Regions from separate parts of the Homo sapiens genome. Here all the other regions are linked to region 3. The links are contacts of gene promoters, found by promoter capture Hi-C in human tissues and cell types (Jung and others, 2019). All regions are on one chromosome and are shown on one strand. The core of a region is centred on a gene start or on the middle of the fragment in contact, and the rest is flanking DNA. Distances in the headings are between cores, read along the strand shown.

Evidence for each region. The method cuts DNA at HindIII sites, captures the fragments that hold promoters and counts their contacts. A contact is called where the count stands out against the background at its distance.
Region 1: a fragment that was not itself captured here is called in contact with the fragment with the promoter of GPSM2 in region 3 in 2 of the 25 tissues and cell types used here (mesenchymal stem cells and pancreas).
Region 2: a contact is called between a fragment that was not itself captured here and the fragment with the promoter of GPSM2 in region 3, in 1 of the 25 tissues and cell types used here (mesenchymal stem cells).

What each region holds. Positions count from the first base shown.
Region 1 is chr1:108,644,028-108,648,469 of GRCh38, reverse strand. HENMT1 (HEN methyltransferase 1) reads left to right here. Exons shown (of 8, transcript NM_001102592.2): 8 at 1-175. Among named protein-coding and RNA genes, the nearest start is that of HENMT1, 15 kb to the left of the region's middle. The HindIII fragment of the contact is 3,882 bases long and covers 1-3,415 here.
Region 2 is chr1:108,731,337-108,735,547 of GRCh38, reverse strand. It overlaps FNDC7 (fibronectin type III domain containing 7), which reads right to left. Exons shown (of 13, transcript NM_001144937.3): 10 at 2,016-2,276. Among named protein-coding and RNA genes, the nearest start is that of STXBP3, 13 kb to the left of the region's middle. The HindIII fragment of the contact is 6,375 bases long and covers 1-4,211 here.
Region 3 is chr1:108,875,108-108,879,676 of GRCh38, reverse strand. It overlaps GPSM2 (G protein signaling modulator 2), which reads right to left and starts at 2,692. Exons shown (of 15, transcript NM_013296.5): 1 at 2,449-2,692. RefSeq lists silencers at 2,297-2,366, 2,457-2,856 and an enhancer at 2,937-3,036. The HindIII fragment of the contact is 24,726 bases long and covers 1-4,569 here.

The sequences.
Region 1 (4,442 bases), core at 225-2,724, 230 kb after region 3:
TAAAGTTTCACTGCAAAAGTCTATGTTCCAAGCCATTGGACAGACCTGCTTGAGATATGGCCAGACTGCAGTGAGCCCTGAGAAAGATATGAGGGTTTAAAACGGGTGCTTTCCTTTGATTTTGGACTTTTTTGTTTTCTCAAGAATAAAGAAGTTGGATGTGGTAATATGTTAATTTTGAACTTACCTATTTTTTTTGTGTTAAAGCCATGAGTTGATTGTTGTTAGTCTGTTCTCACATTGCTGTGAAGAACTACCTGAGACTGGGTAATTTATAAAGAAAAGAGGTTTAATTGACTTACAGTTCTGCAGGCTGCACAGGAAGCATGCAGGAAGCTGGGGAGGCCTCAGGAAACTTACAGTCTTGGTGGAAGGCGAAGGGGAAGCAGGCACGTCTTATATAGCTAGAGCCGGAGGAAGAGAGCTTGGGGAGGTCTACACACTTTTAAACAACCAGGTTTAATAACAAGAATAGCAAGGGGGAAATCCGCCCTCATAACCCAATCACCTCCCACCAGCCCCCTCCTCCAATATTGGGGATTACAATTTGACATGAGATTTGGGCAAGGACAGAAATACAAACCATATCAATTGTGATATTAAAAATTTAAGAGAAAGTTATCAAATATAGTGTTCAAAACCTTTTCTTTGGGGTAAGAGTAGCTTTAAAATTTTTCTGGGATTCTCTATCTCCTTAATGCCAAATTCTAACCTGTGTAATATTTAGCCTAGAACATCAATAAAACAGGAATGCAGGTGGTTGGAGGGCATAGAAGCCTCTTCATGATGTAATTGCTGTCCATGTTTTGTTGTTGTTGTTGTTGTTTTTTTGAGACAGGGTCTTGTTCTGTTACCCAGGCTGGAGTGCAGTGGCACAATCATGGCTCATTGTAGCCTCAGCCTCTGGGCTAAAATAATCCTCCCACCTCACCTCCTCCCCACCAGTAGCTTGAACTACTGGCATGTACCACCATGCCCAGCTAATTAAAAATTTGTAGAGATAGGGTCTCACTATGTTGCCCAGACTGGTCTTGAACTTCTGGGCTCAAGTGGTCCTCCTGCCTCAGCTTCCCAAAGTGCTGGGATTGTTTTTTGAGCACCCTCTTCTGAGGATGGAATTGGGGTGGTAGTACTTCTCTGGTTGGAATTGGGGTGGTAGTACTAATGGGAGAAAGAAACATAGCTTCACCTCATGGGGGAAAACAGTAGTTTAAATGAGAGGCATTTCTTAGGCACAGGAGTCCAGAGGTAAGCCCCAGGCATGGGAGCTCTGCCACTTTTGGGACCCAGACGTCCATCTTGCATGTTGTGGCTACTTAGTATGCCATCCAGGGACAGAGAGAGAGATTTGAGCTCTGGCTACTACTTTCATATTCTGAAACAGCAGAAAGAAGAGAAGGGACAAAGGGCACACACAAGCTGTCTGGTAAAGCTTGCTGTGGGTTGTTACGCAACACGACTGCTTACTTCCTGTTGATCAGAATGTGGTCTTCAGGCCACACAAAGGGAAGCTGATATATTAGTCTGTTCTTGCATTGCTGTAAAGAAATAGCAGAGACTGGGTAATAAAGAGGTTTATTGGCTCATGGTTCCACAGAGTGTACAGGAAGCATAGCAGCTTCTGCTTCTGGGGAGGCCTCAGGAAACTTCCAGTAATGGCAGAAGGCAAAGGGTTGGGGCGGGGCGAGGCATCTCACATGGTGGGAACAGGAGCAAGGCGGAGCGAGGGGTGGTGCTGAACACGTTTAAGCAGGTCTTGGGCGGACTCTGTCACGAGAACAGCACTAAGGGGATGGTGCGAAACCATTCACAAAGGACCCACCCCCATGATCACTTCCCAGCAGGCCCCTCCTTCAATATCAGGGATTACAGTTTGACATGAGATTTGAATGGGGACACAGATCCAAACCGTATCAGCTGCGAAATACAGTTTTTATTCTGGGAGGTCATGTGTCCACTTGGTCTGCCAAGGAACAAGGGGAGAAGGAACACTGGCAAATAACCATCTGTGCCACAGCTAGGACATCCTGAGCGGTCTGGAATGGGGGCTATGGAGATGCAGAGTTGGTGCCTGGGAGAGGGCTGGGGGGAGTAATTCTCAAGCTGAGTTTCCAAGGGTTAATAATTAAGCAGATGGGAAGGGGATTTGGTGAGGGGGGAGAGAATTGAGGGATTCTGATGAGAACCGTCTTTTAATCACATTACATTGGTAAACCAGCTGTTTTTTCCTTGAATTTCTAATACTGCTATCAGACTTCCCCCATGAATGCTCAAAGGTGCACATGAACAAGAGATTTGTAGCCCCACCCTATTCCTGCTCTCAAAGGCCCTCTGTCCGTCCTCACCTTTCTAGGCCTCTGCAGTTTTCACTCTAGAGTTCCCTTCTCATCATTGCTCTTCTGTGGTAGAGCCAAGGTTTCTAGCCAAGACCAGCCGTTTCTCTGATCTTTCTTGAAAGTTAATCAGTTAACTTTGTTCGAGCCTAATCACTGGAGCCCCCATGTGGAAACATTTTAAGTGCTCATGACTGCCATGGGGGCTGGAGCTGCTCTTCCCCATGGCCTTCCCGCTCTCTCTGCGGCTTCTGTACCTACGTTCTTCTTGAGAAGTTTGTCTTTCCCCCAACCTGGATACAGGCCTTTCTTTGCACACTGAAAGGCTCATTAATACTTGAGGTCAGGGGTTGCCAGACGTGCTTTTGGGGCTAGACAGTAAATCTTTGCAGGTGATCCAGTCTCTATCACAACTATTCAACTCTGCTTGAGTCAAAGCCACCACAGACAATGTGAAAACAAGTGCGCTGAGCAGGAGACAGAGTTTAATCTGCAGTCTTCTTTGAGAGAAGGTTCTCACTGCCACTGCCCACCTCCCAGACTAGATACGAAATCTGCACTACCAGGTATTGAAACCTCCCTGGCCCTTGAGATCTGAATATAATTTGCCTCCAACTCCTATTTCCATAGTCTGGGTAACTCCAAAACTCTGAGACTTCTATGATTTCCTAAAAGCTTACGTTATCACAGCACTGCCTGCCTTCAAGTTCAGTTCCATACAACTGAGATGTGAATCTCAGCCCCTTCTATGCTGCTCCGAGGCTCCTCAAACACATCCCACCTTACCCTCCTTCTCATCTGGCAGCAGCTCCCAGCTCACCTTCCCCAGCTGCCCTCGCTTGCCCCACCCCCTCCCCTCCTTTCCTGTGACTGCCAACCTGCTGCCCCACGGCACGCCCAGCAGTTCAGCTCCCTTCAAGTGTTCTCAGCCCTCAGTTCTGCCAGCGGTTATCAAGGGAGAACTCCAAATAAAGGCAATTTCTTCAACTAGAGTTTGGGTGCCAAGAACATTAAATCTTTATCTCGTTATGCCTGGTCCTGTGGAGACTGTGTGTCGAGCAGTTGACAGGAAGTCAGGGACTGAGCAGTGTCAGCAGTGGCAATGTGGTCTTTTGAAGACTGAGAACTGTGGGTTTCTGCCTTCATGAAGGATGCTAGGTGCTAACTACAGCAAACATGGCTTATCATTATATTTGTGAACCTCGAACATTTGAGACAGGTCTCAGCTAATTTAGAAAGTTTATTTTGCCAAGGTTGAGGACACGCTCCCATGACACAGTCTCAGGAGGTCCTGACAACATGTACTCAGGGTGGTCGGGGCACATCTTGGTTTTATACATTTTAGGGAGACATGAGACATTAATCAATATATGTAAGAAGTACATTGGTTCCATCCAGAAAGGCGGGGACAACTCAAAGCAAGGAGGGAGCTTCCAGGGCACTGGTAGAGGAGAGACAAATGGTTGCATTTTTTTGAGTTTCTGATAAGCTTTTCCAAAGGAGGCAGTCAGATATGCATCTACCTCAGTGAGCAGAGGGATGACTTTGAATAGAATGGGAGCTAGGTTTGCCCTGAGTAGTTTCCAGTTTGAATTTTCCTTTCGCTTAGTGATTTTAGGGGTCCAAGATATTTTCCTTTCACATATATGATGCACATCCTTGGTGATATCTAGAAAAAGGGGACAGCTGGGAATATTGCTGAGGTCTAGCAAACAAGCTGCTAGGAGCTGGAAGTTGGAAATGTGTATAGTAAATGTTAAATACAAGCTTTTGAAGCCAGCAGTATGTGTTAATACCTTTTATCTTGAAAGTTAACAATTCATGTCCTCTATTTCTCTGTTGGGTTCTTAATGTTCCTGCTGAATTGTGTGTACTCTGCCTGCACACTTTTGCCTCCACTGCTGCAACAATCTCATTTCTTTCTACATGCTCAACTTCATCCTGCATGCTAGACTCAAGCTAGAATTAGTCAGATTAAACTGTGATCTGATTGTATTGTCTTACCCAACAACATGACTCCCTGCTCCCACACATCACCCTTGACCCATCAGAGCCTTTGCTTTCACTGAACAGGCTCTGTGTGTTCTCACTGCTGTTTCCCACCTGGCC
Region 2 (4,211 bases), core at 582-3,081, 140 kb after region 3:
GGCTACTAGAAAATTTAATTTTTCATGCATGGTGCATATTAAATTTCTATTGAACAGTGCAGGTATAAGTAGACAGGGGACAGATTATAAGGGACTGTGAACACCATGCCCAGAGGATTGAATGTTATCTTATGGGGAAATGGAAAAGTTTTGAAGATGTGGCAGCATAAAAGTAACACAATTGGACCAGTGTCCTGGAATGATAACTCTGGTAGCATTACAGAGGCTGGAGTGAGGACAGGGAGATGGGACTGGTGCAGTAGTCTAGGGGAGAGGTGGTGAGGGCCTGAGGCATAGCAGTAGCTGTGGGAATGAAGAGAAGACTCGGGATTTAGGAACCATCATGAAGGTGACCAGGACGAGAATTCGAGATTACTTAGATATGGAGGGTGAGGGAGACAGAAGCTGACTCCAGGGTTTTTAGCTAATGTACCTGAAACAAGGACGATGGGAGGAAGATCAGAAACAGCAGAGGATCAGGAGTTCCTTTTGCCCCTGAGGGGTTTGAAATGCCTGGGCACCTCCAGGTGGAGGTATCAAATTTGAATACGGACTTAGGGGTCAGGAGAAGAGAAGAGTTGTAGATAGAGATTTGGGAGCCTCTGAGCTTCAGTTTTCTCATTTACAAAGTGGAGATAATGAAATATGTTGAGCCTATAGCATAGCATATTTTGAGCATTTGATGAGATTTGTGATATGAAACCACTGGATAAATTATAAAATATTATGCAGTTATGATGCAGTATTGTTATTGAGCTGTAGACTCATCTTCCTAAGAGCTCATCCTGACACCAGGAACCTATTCCTGTCCCTTCCCATAGGGCTATGCTTTGGGCCAGCTTGTCCTGTGGACCAAATAATGGAAAAACAAGGAATCAGAGCATGACAGCCAGGGACAATGAGAACAGCCCCTTGGGAGGAACTGTCCTCCTTCCATCACCAAGGGCCATCCTGAACCTCCTGTCACCTACATATCATTCAAAATTTTAGATTCTGGCTATCAGTAAGGGCTTGTGAGCCAATATTTATTCTTTTTTTCTGTGTTCACCTGCAAAATTCTAGGGCTTCATCATCTCTTTTCTTCTAGGAATACATGAAAAATATATGACTGTGCCCTGGGCAAGGTAGCAGAAGGTGCTGGAACACAGAGCGGAGAATTGCTAATGTTTTCCTGCCAGCTCTGGTGAGATGGTAGTTGCTGACAGCCATGCTTTGTGATCACAGATTGTCTGCCCACTCATATTGCCAAGCCTAGCTTGTGATTTATAAATTTATTTTTTCTGATCCTCTAACTTTTCCTCAGTCATAATTCTCAGTCTGTGCAAATAAAAGTTCAAGTTTCCTAATTTCCAACATCCCAGGATGTCTATCATTATCAGCAAGACTATGTTAAAAAATCTATCCCTAAATCTCAAAGCAGAAAATTATCTTAAATTTGCTTTACTAATTAAGCAGCAAGCATCTAGTCCTTTTTAGGAAGGGGAAGAGTGGGACAGAGAAGATAATCTCTAAATTAAATAAAGCATCACAATTCCAAAGAATCTTGGGGTCTTCCACAGCCAGAATCTGCCTGTGCTGTGTAGAAATTTTATACCCTTGACTGGGTGCAGTGGTTCATGCCTGTAATCCCAGCACTTTGGGAGGCTGAGGCAGGAGGATCACCTGAGGTCAGGAGTTCATGACCAGCCTGGCCAATATGCTGAAGCCCCGTCTCTACAAAAATACAAAAATTACTCAGGTATGATGCCAGGTGCCTGTAATCGCAGCTACTTGGGAGGCTGAGGCAGGAGAATTGCTTGACCCTGGGAGGTGGAGGTTGCAGTGAGCCAAGATCATGCCATTGCACTCCAGCCTGGGCGACAGAGTGAGACTGTCTCAAAAAAAAAAAAAAAAAAAAAGAAAGAAATTTTATACCCTCTGTGCCCTTCATACATAGTAAATAAGTTTGATTGCATCTTAATTCACAGATATGAGTTCAGGGTTAGTTTTAGATAAACTGTCATAACTTGCTTTACCTGAATATATTTTTTTTGGACAGAAAGTAAGCTTCAATCCTGTTTTAGCAACTGGTGAGACCATCACAGTGTATACATCCCCACAGGGTATCTCAGTGACATCACAGAAACTGAGGCCAGCACTCGGGGTGCACGTGAAAATGCCTTTGGAGCCATAGAGGTCAGTGCTGTAATTGGCAGAGCCCCTGGAGGCTTGCCAGTAGATCCGGATGCCATTAGGGCCCAGCCTATATAATTTCACCCCCAAAGGGCAGCAGGCACCTAGGCAATAAAAATAACAAACACAAAATCACTTGTTTTATTCCACCATCATCCAAAAATGGCCTTGATTACTGCAGGGAAAAAATATAAGCAAACTAGTCTAAGTAACAGGATTAATTACTGGTTAGATCAGAGCAAGATTTGAAGGGGTACTCGAGTTATTTCCATGGTGGGCCACATAATCAGAAATCCATGGGTGGCTGGGCATGATGGCTTATGCCTATAATCTGAGTACTTTGGGAGGCCAAGGCAGGAGGATCGCTTAAGCCCAGGAGTTTGAGACCAGCCTAGGCAACATAGGGAGACCCTGACTCTACAAAAAAAAAAAAAAAAAAATTAGCCAGTTGTGGTGGTGCACACCTGTGGTCCCCTTGGGAGGATGAGGCAGGAGGATGGCTTAAGGCCAGGAGTTCAAGGCTGCTGTGAGCTATGATTGTGCCACAGCACTCACTCCAGCCTAGGTGACAGAGCGAGATCCTGTCTAAAAAAAAGAAAGAAAAAGAAAGAAAGACAGACAGAAAGAAAGAAAGAAAAAAGAGAAAAGAGAGGGAGGGAGGGAAAGAAAGAAAGAGAGAGAGAGAGAAATCCATGTGTGAAGGTGGTGTGCAGTATGAATTTTTAATACAGAACAATGGTGAGTCAGAAAGGTCCAAAAATTGGCAGATACATATTGTACATGATTCAAACTGTGAGTCAAAGGCACAGAATCCTTGTCAAGATCCCTCATAATGCCCTAGTTTTATTTGATTTTGGTGGCATTAAACTTAAATATAATTAACTGCATTCAGCCTTAATTGAAGAACCAATTTTGCCGAGATGAGTAGTATGACACTTTAGGTGCAGCCATTTATACAACATGCCAGTGACCAAGTTTGCTGGTCCACGCTTCATCCATGGTAGCTGATTAGTATTTTTTTTTTTTTTTTTTTTGAGACGGAGTCTCGCTCTGTTGCCCAGGCTGGTCGGCTCACTGCAAACTCCGCCTCCCGGGTTCACGCCATTCTCCGGCCTCAGCCTCCCGAGTAGCTGGGACTACAGGCGCCCGCCACCACGCCTGGCTATTTTTTTGTATTTTTAGTAGAGACGGGGTTTCACCATGTTATCCAGGATGGTCTTGATCTCCTGACCTCGTGATCCGCCTGCCTCGGCCTCCCAAAGTGCTGGGATTACAGGCATGAGCCACCGCGCCAGGCCACTGATTAGTATTTTTTTCCTTTTCTAAATACCTTGAGCAAGCCACACATTAGGTGCCAATAAGGGCATCAAATGGATTCCTTAGTAACTAAGTTAAAGATCCTACTGTATAATTTTTAAAAGTTATTATAATCAGGCTTACTTGATTTATTCTTAAAAGAATAAGCAATGGGTCATATTCTGAGAACTGGATATCAAGGTGAGAACTTAAGCAGTAAATCTAATACAAGATAATGGGTCAAAAGAAAGTACATACCAGCTGACATACGTGCAGCATGTTCTGAATGTTCTCACATTATGATTTATTTTGATTCTCAAAACAACTTCGAAGGAAAATATTACTATTCCTGTCTTTTTCAATGAGGAGACAGAATCAGGGAAGATTAGGCAACACAGCTTATTAGAATCCATGTCTAATTTTGACTCCCAGTTAAGACTCTTTCTACTACCTCTAGGATGCCAAAATTATATTCCAACTCTTCCATCCCATGCCCCAGGCAGAGGTAACTTATCATTGTACTTTTTCTCCTTAAGCCTAGGAAGCATCCTCAAGAGTTTTATCAAAACCGTGTTACAAGCAGCCACTTCAGTGAATTAGAATCATGCAAGAGATTTGGTAACCTTGCACTGCTTTTACTTTCCCCTGCTATTCCCTAATGGTTTGGTCTTTGTGAAGAACAAGGTACAATACTGTCAGTAGACAGATGTCTTTGCTCTCTTAGCCTGTTGAAATAAGAAACC
Region 3 (4,569 bases), core at 1,443-3,942:
ATTTTTAGTACAGACGGGGTTTCACCACGTTGGTCAGGCTGGTGTTGAACTCCTGACCTCGTGATCCGCCCACCTCGGCCTCCCAAAGTGCTGGGATTACAGGCGTGAGCCACCGTACCCGGCCTCAGCCTTTTATTTACACAATGGGGAACCTTGCTGGTATTTTTTCCCCACAAAGGAATAGCCAAGTTGGATCTCTGCTAGGAAGATAAACCAGCAGCAACATATAAGGCAGGAATGGGGAGAAAAGAAAAATACTACAAAAACTCCAGAAACAACTACTGAATAGGAAGCATTTTCTTGTCATCTCACAACACCAACGACATTGCTTTGCACATAAGAGAGGCCCAACAAACTTTAATTTCTTCCCTGGGAAGAAGACAGGAATTATGACGAGGCCAAAGAATCCTACAATAGTGAGAAAACCGGACTGTAATACATTTCTTCTCCACAGTAAAGATTCTATTCATATTTATGTAAGAAACTCAGAAAAGTCTTACTCTTCACTTATGTTTTGTATAAAGATGATTAAGAAGATATTGAAAATATAATGTGATTTATAAGATGATTTATAAAATAATGAAGCAAGATAGTTCCAACAGAAAGATTGAAATATTTCTGCGAAGCTACAACAAAACACAGCACCTAAAGGCATCTTTAAAGTAGAACTTGTCCCTACAAATGGAATCCAGAGACACAGCAGAGATTTAAACAGACACACAGAAGCAATACAGCATGTGCTTTGGGATCAGGCCATGATTTGAATCTCGGCACAGTGACTTATTAGTTATATGATCTTACGCTAAACTCTCAGTTGGTGTGGGCATAATGACACTTACCTAAAATGTGCTGTGATAATTACAGACATGATTTATAAAGCACCTGACCCAGCACCTGGCTCTGATACATAACAAAAGTACTCAACATAGTGCTGTAGTAATAACAGTAACTGTTATTATAAAATAGACATATTTAATATATATTCAAATAAATTTAGAATAACCTAAATCTATGTCAGATTTTCCATTTTAAAATTCCAGAGAACTAATTACAAATTTCTAAAGATAGATCTTAGAAATATTTTATGTTTATGAAAAGGTCATTTTTAAAACTACTATATCTTATCACTGTTTTAATTAGTCTAGTAAGCAAGTCTCAGATCTATATTAAAATATGTTTGTAACACCGAATATCTGATTTAAGAATGTAAGAAAATACAATTAAACTGCTTATCTGGCCAGAGAGGATTTTGGAGACATGCCTCTACAACAACATCACACAACTTTTTACTTTGAAACCGCTCCAATACTTAAATTATAAGTAATAGCCTGGGAAATAGCTTGCGAAAACGACTCCGTGGTAGTTGTAAAGAGAAGTAGGTGTGAGACCACCCCTAATCCCTGAGGCCCCCCTCTCCTTACACACACCATGTCAACCAACAGTGATCTACCCTTTTTAATGTTGTTTATTCACTTCTAAACAATCAACTAAAGCTGCTCCTGAATAGTGAGAACCCAATCAAAAGTGGTATTTATCAGAAGCAATCACACCGGCTATTATCAGGCCAGAAATCTTCGGTACACCCTTCTAAAGTGGCAGCTTGAAAACTCAGCTCTGTTGGTCCTGCTGACTTCCAACACACCCCACGAACGCTCCAATGCAAACCCGATAGAAAGGAAAGCCAAGAACCTACTTCGTTTAATTCTACGGTGTGGTTAAATTATGCATTAAGGCCAATAAAATTTCCATCCTTACTCGTTTTCTTTAACAGAGTTCAAATGCTACTAGTTCAAATGCTCTAACTGGTTACTATTAAAACAAGGAAATTACAGATTTTTTTTTATTCGAAGGTATTCTATAGATTTCAGGAAAGAGTTTTCTTAACGTTTTATGTTTACTTACTCTTTTTGCAGCAACTACCAATTTCTATGGTAAATCGACCAGTTGGTGCCCAAAAGTTCACTAATTTAAGCACGGTCAAGGCAGGTATTTGCCATAAACTGCCTGGTTTAGGTAGGACGCGCCCGACTCCAAGTGATTGCAATCAGCCTCGGAATGAATTCCACGGGGATTCGGGCTTTGATTCACAATTTGTTACTCACATTCAGAGTGGTAAGAAGTCGCTGGACTCTAGTATAGTTTTTATCTTAAAAAAAAAAAAAGACTCAGGAGTGAGGCTCTTAACGCTTTACTCTCATTTGAAGACCTTCCGACAAAAAAGCAGCAACTCCTCAAGCCGAGTTTCTGGTTTCTTGAGCATCGACGCCGCGTCCCCGCAGCGCCCACAGGTCCCGCAAGCCCCCAGCCCGCCTCCTGCCCAAAACAAAGGACGTCACCCCCAGACCTCTGGACACAGAAGCCCCACACGCACGCACACGCACCCCTCCCTGTCACCTCCCTCCGAGAGCCCCTCAAACGCCTCAGAACCCGCGTCGCGGAAGCGCTCACCTCCCGCGGGCGGGCGGGTCCCGGGTACGCGGTGAAGGTGCAGCGGCGGCCGCCTCGGGCGACAGACGGGTGGTCACGGCCCCTCCCCAAGGCAGGGGCACCGCAGGAGGCCGGCGCGCCCCCTGCTCCCGCCCCCGGCAGGTCACGTGGGCCAGAGCTCGTAGCGCCCCTCGCTTTCCCGGAGCGTCCCTCCGCCACCTAGGGGTCCCGCCGCTCCGCCGGTCTCAACACCGCCCTCCTCTGCGCCTGCGCCCCGGCTCCAGGCGCTCTCATTCAAACCGACAACGCCCCGCGTCTTTCGGACCGGCCAATGGCGGGCGGCGCAGCGGGGCGGGGCGGGGCGCTGGTTGCCCCCCTCTTCGCAGTCCTGGGGAACCGTCTGCGTGTCAAGGTGACAGGGGGCTTGGGAGCTTGGTCCTCCTCTGCTCCGGGACGTGTCCTCAACCCTCAGACTGAAGTTTCTTTCCTGTCCTCTTCTTTCTTCTTCAGACACTAAAAAGTAGAGCAATAAATATTGTCTAGAGTTGGCCGGGCGCTGTGACGGACGGCTATAATCCCAGCACTTTGGGAGGCCGAGGCGGGCGGATCACCTGAGGTCGGGAGTTCGAGACCAGCCTGACCAACATGGAGAAACCCCGTCTCTACTAAAAATACAAAATTAGCTGGGAGTGGTGGCGCATGCCTTTAATCCCAGCTACTCAGGAGGCTGAGGCAGGAGAATCGCTTGAATCCGGGAGGCGGAGGTTGCCGTGAGTGGAGATCGCACCATTGCACTCCAGCCTGGGCAACAAGAGCGAAATTCCATCTCAAAAACAAAACAAAACAAACAAACAAAAAACATCGTACAGAGTTCAGATAGAGGCTGGCCTAGATCCCTTTAAAAAAGGAGCGCAAAACCAGCGCCGCCTTTTTGGAAGACTTGGTGCTGCGCTACAGAATGAGTGTCCCAAGCGGCAGATGCGGGATATAGAAGAAAAAGAGGCCTCTGTGGAAGGAACAGAGGGACCGTGTGAAAGTCTGAACAAGGCAGCCTCAGTTCTTGAGGCTGTGCCCAACCCTGGCGTTTCCAGCTGTTGGAAAAGCAAACTTCTGTTGACTACAGAATCGCTGGTTCCCAGGAAAATTGGGTGGCAGTTTTACTCAGTTTCACTCAGTTTCAGCGCCTACATTCTAAAGACACTGGGAAGAATAAGTTTTATTTCCATTCACCTCTCCTCCATGTCAAGGTGACCCCAAAATAGTAGTCACCTTATAGTTTGTTCTTCACAAAATACCGGCCGGGCGCGGTGGTTCACATCTGTAATACCAGCAACTTTGGGAGGCCGAGGCGGGGGGATCACCTGAGTTGGAGACCAGCCTGGTCAAAATGGTGAAACCCCGTCTCTACTAAAAATACAAAAATTAGCCGTGCCTGGTGGTGGGCGCCTGCAATCCCAGCTATTCGGGAGGCTGAGGCAGGAGAATTGCTTGAACCCAGGAGGCGGAGGTTGCAGTGAGCCGAGATCGCGCCACTGCACTCCAGCCTCGGCGACAGAGCGAGACTCCGTCTCAAACAACAACAAAAACCAAAATACCAAGACCAGAGTCTCTCTGGGGTAAAGCATCTGATGAATTTACTTAGATTATTTTTCAAATAGATATTTCTCTTCTGAAATGAAGTTTAAATGTTTCTACAGGGTAAAGGCTATGTTAAAGAAAACTCCGGGTTCAGTATCTCCGTGAATGATGGCCATAACCAGTGATCCAAGCAACATTTCCCATTAGGTGCATGTTATGGCAAATTGCTTAAAGGAACAGCTTTATCATCAAACTAGACCTGGGTTTGAGTTCCAATTCTGCTACTTACTTGCTGATTGACCTTGAATGAGTTATCTTCTTTAGTCTTAGTTTCCCCACCTGTAAAACATAATAAAGCCTCTTCTAATAAGGGTTGCTATGATGCTTCTGTGAGGTAAGGTTGTTAAGTGGTTGACATAGGGCCTGACACATAGAAACTGCTCCATACTTGATACCTATTATCGTTACAACCATCTTTAATATCAGGTTCTTGTAAATAACAATGGAATTGGTTGGCTGTACTGTTTCAGAGGTAGGTATTAATTCCTTCTTAATTATAAATTC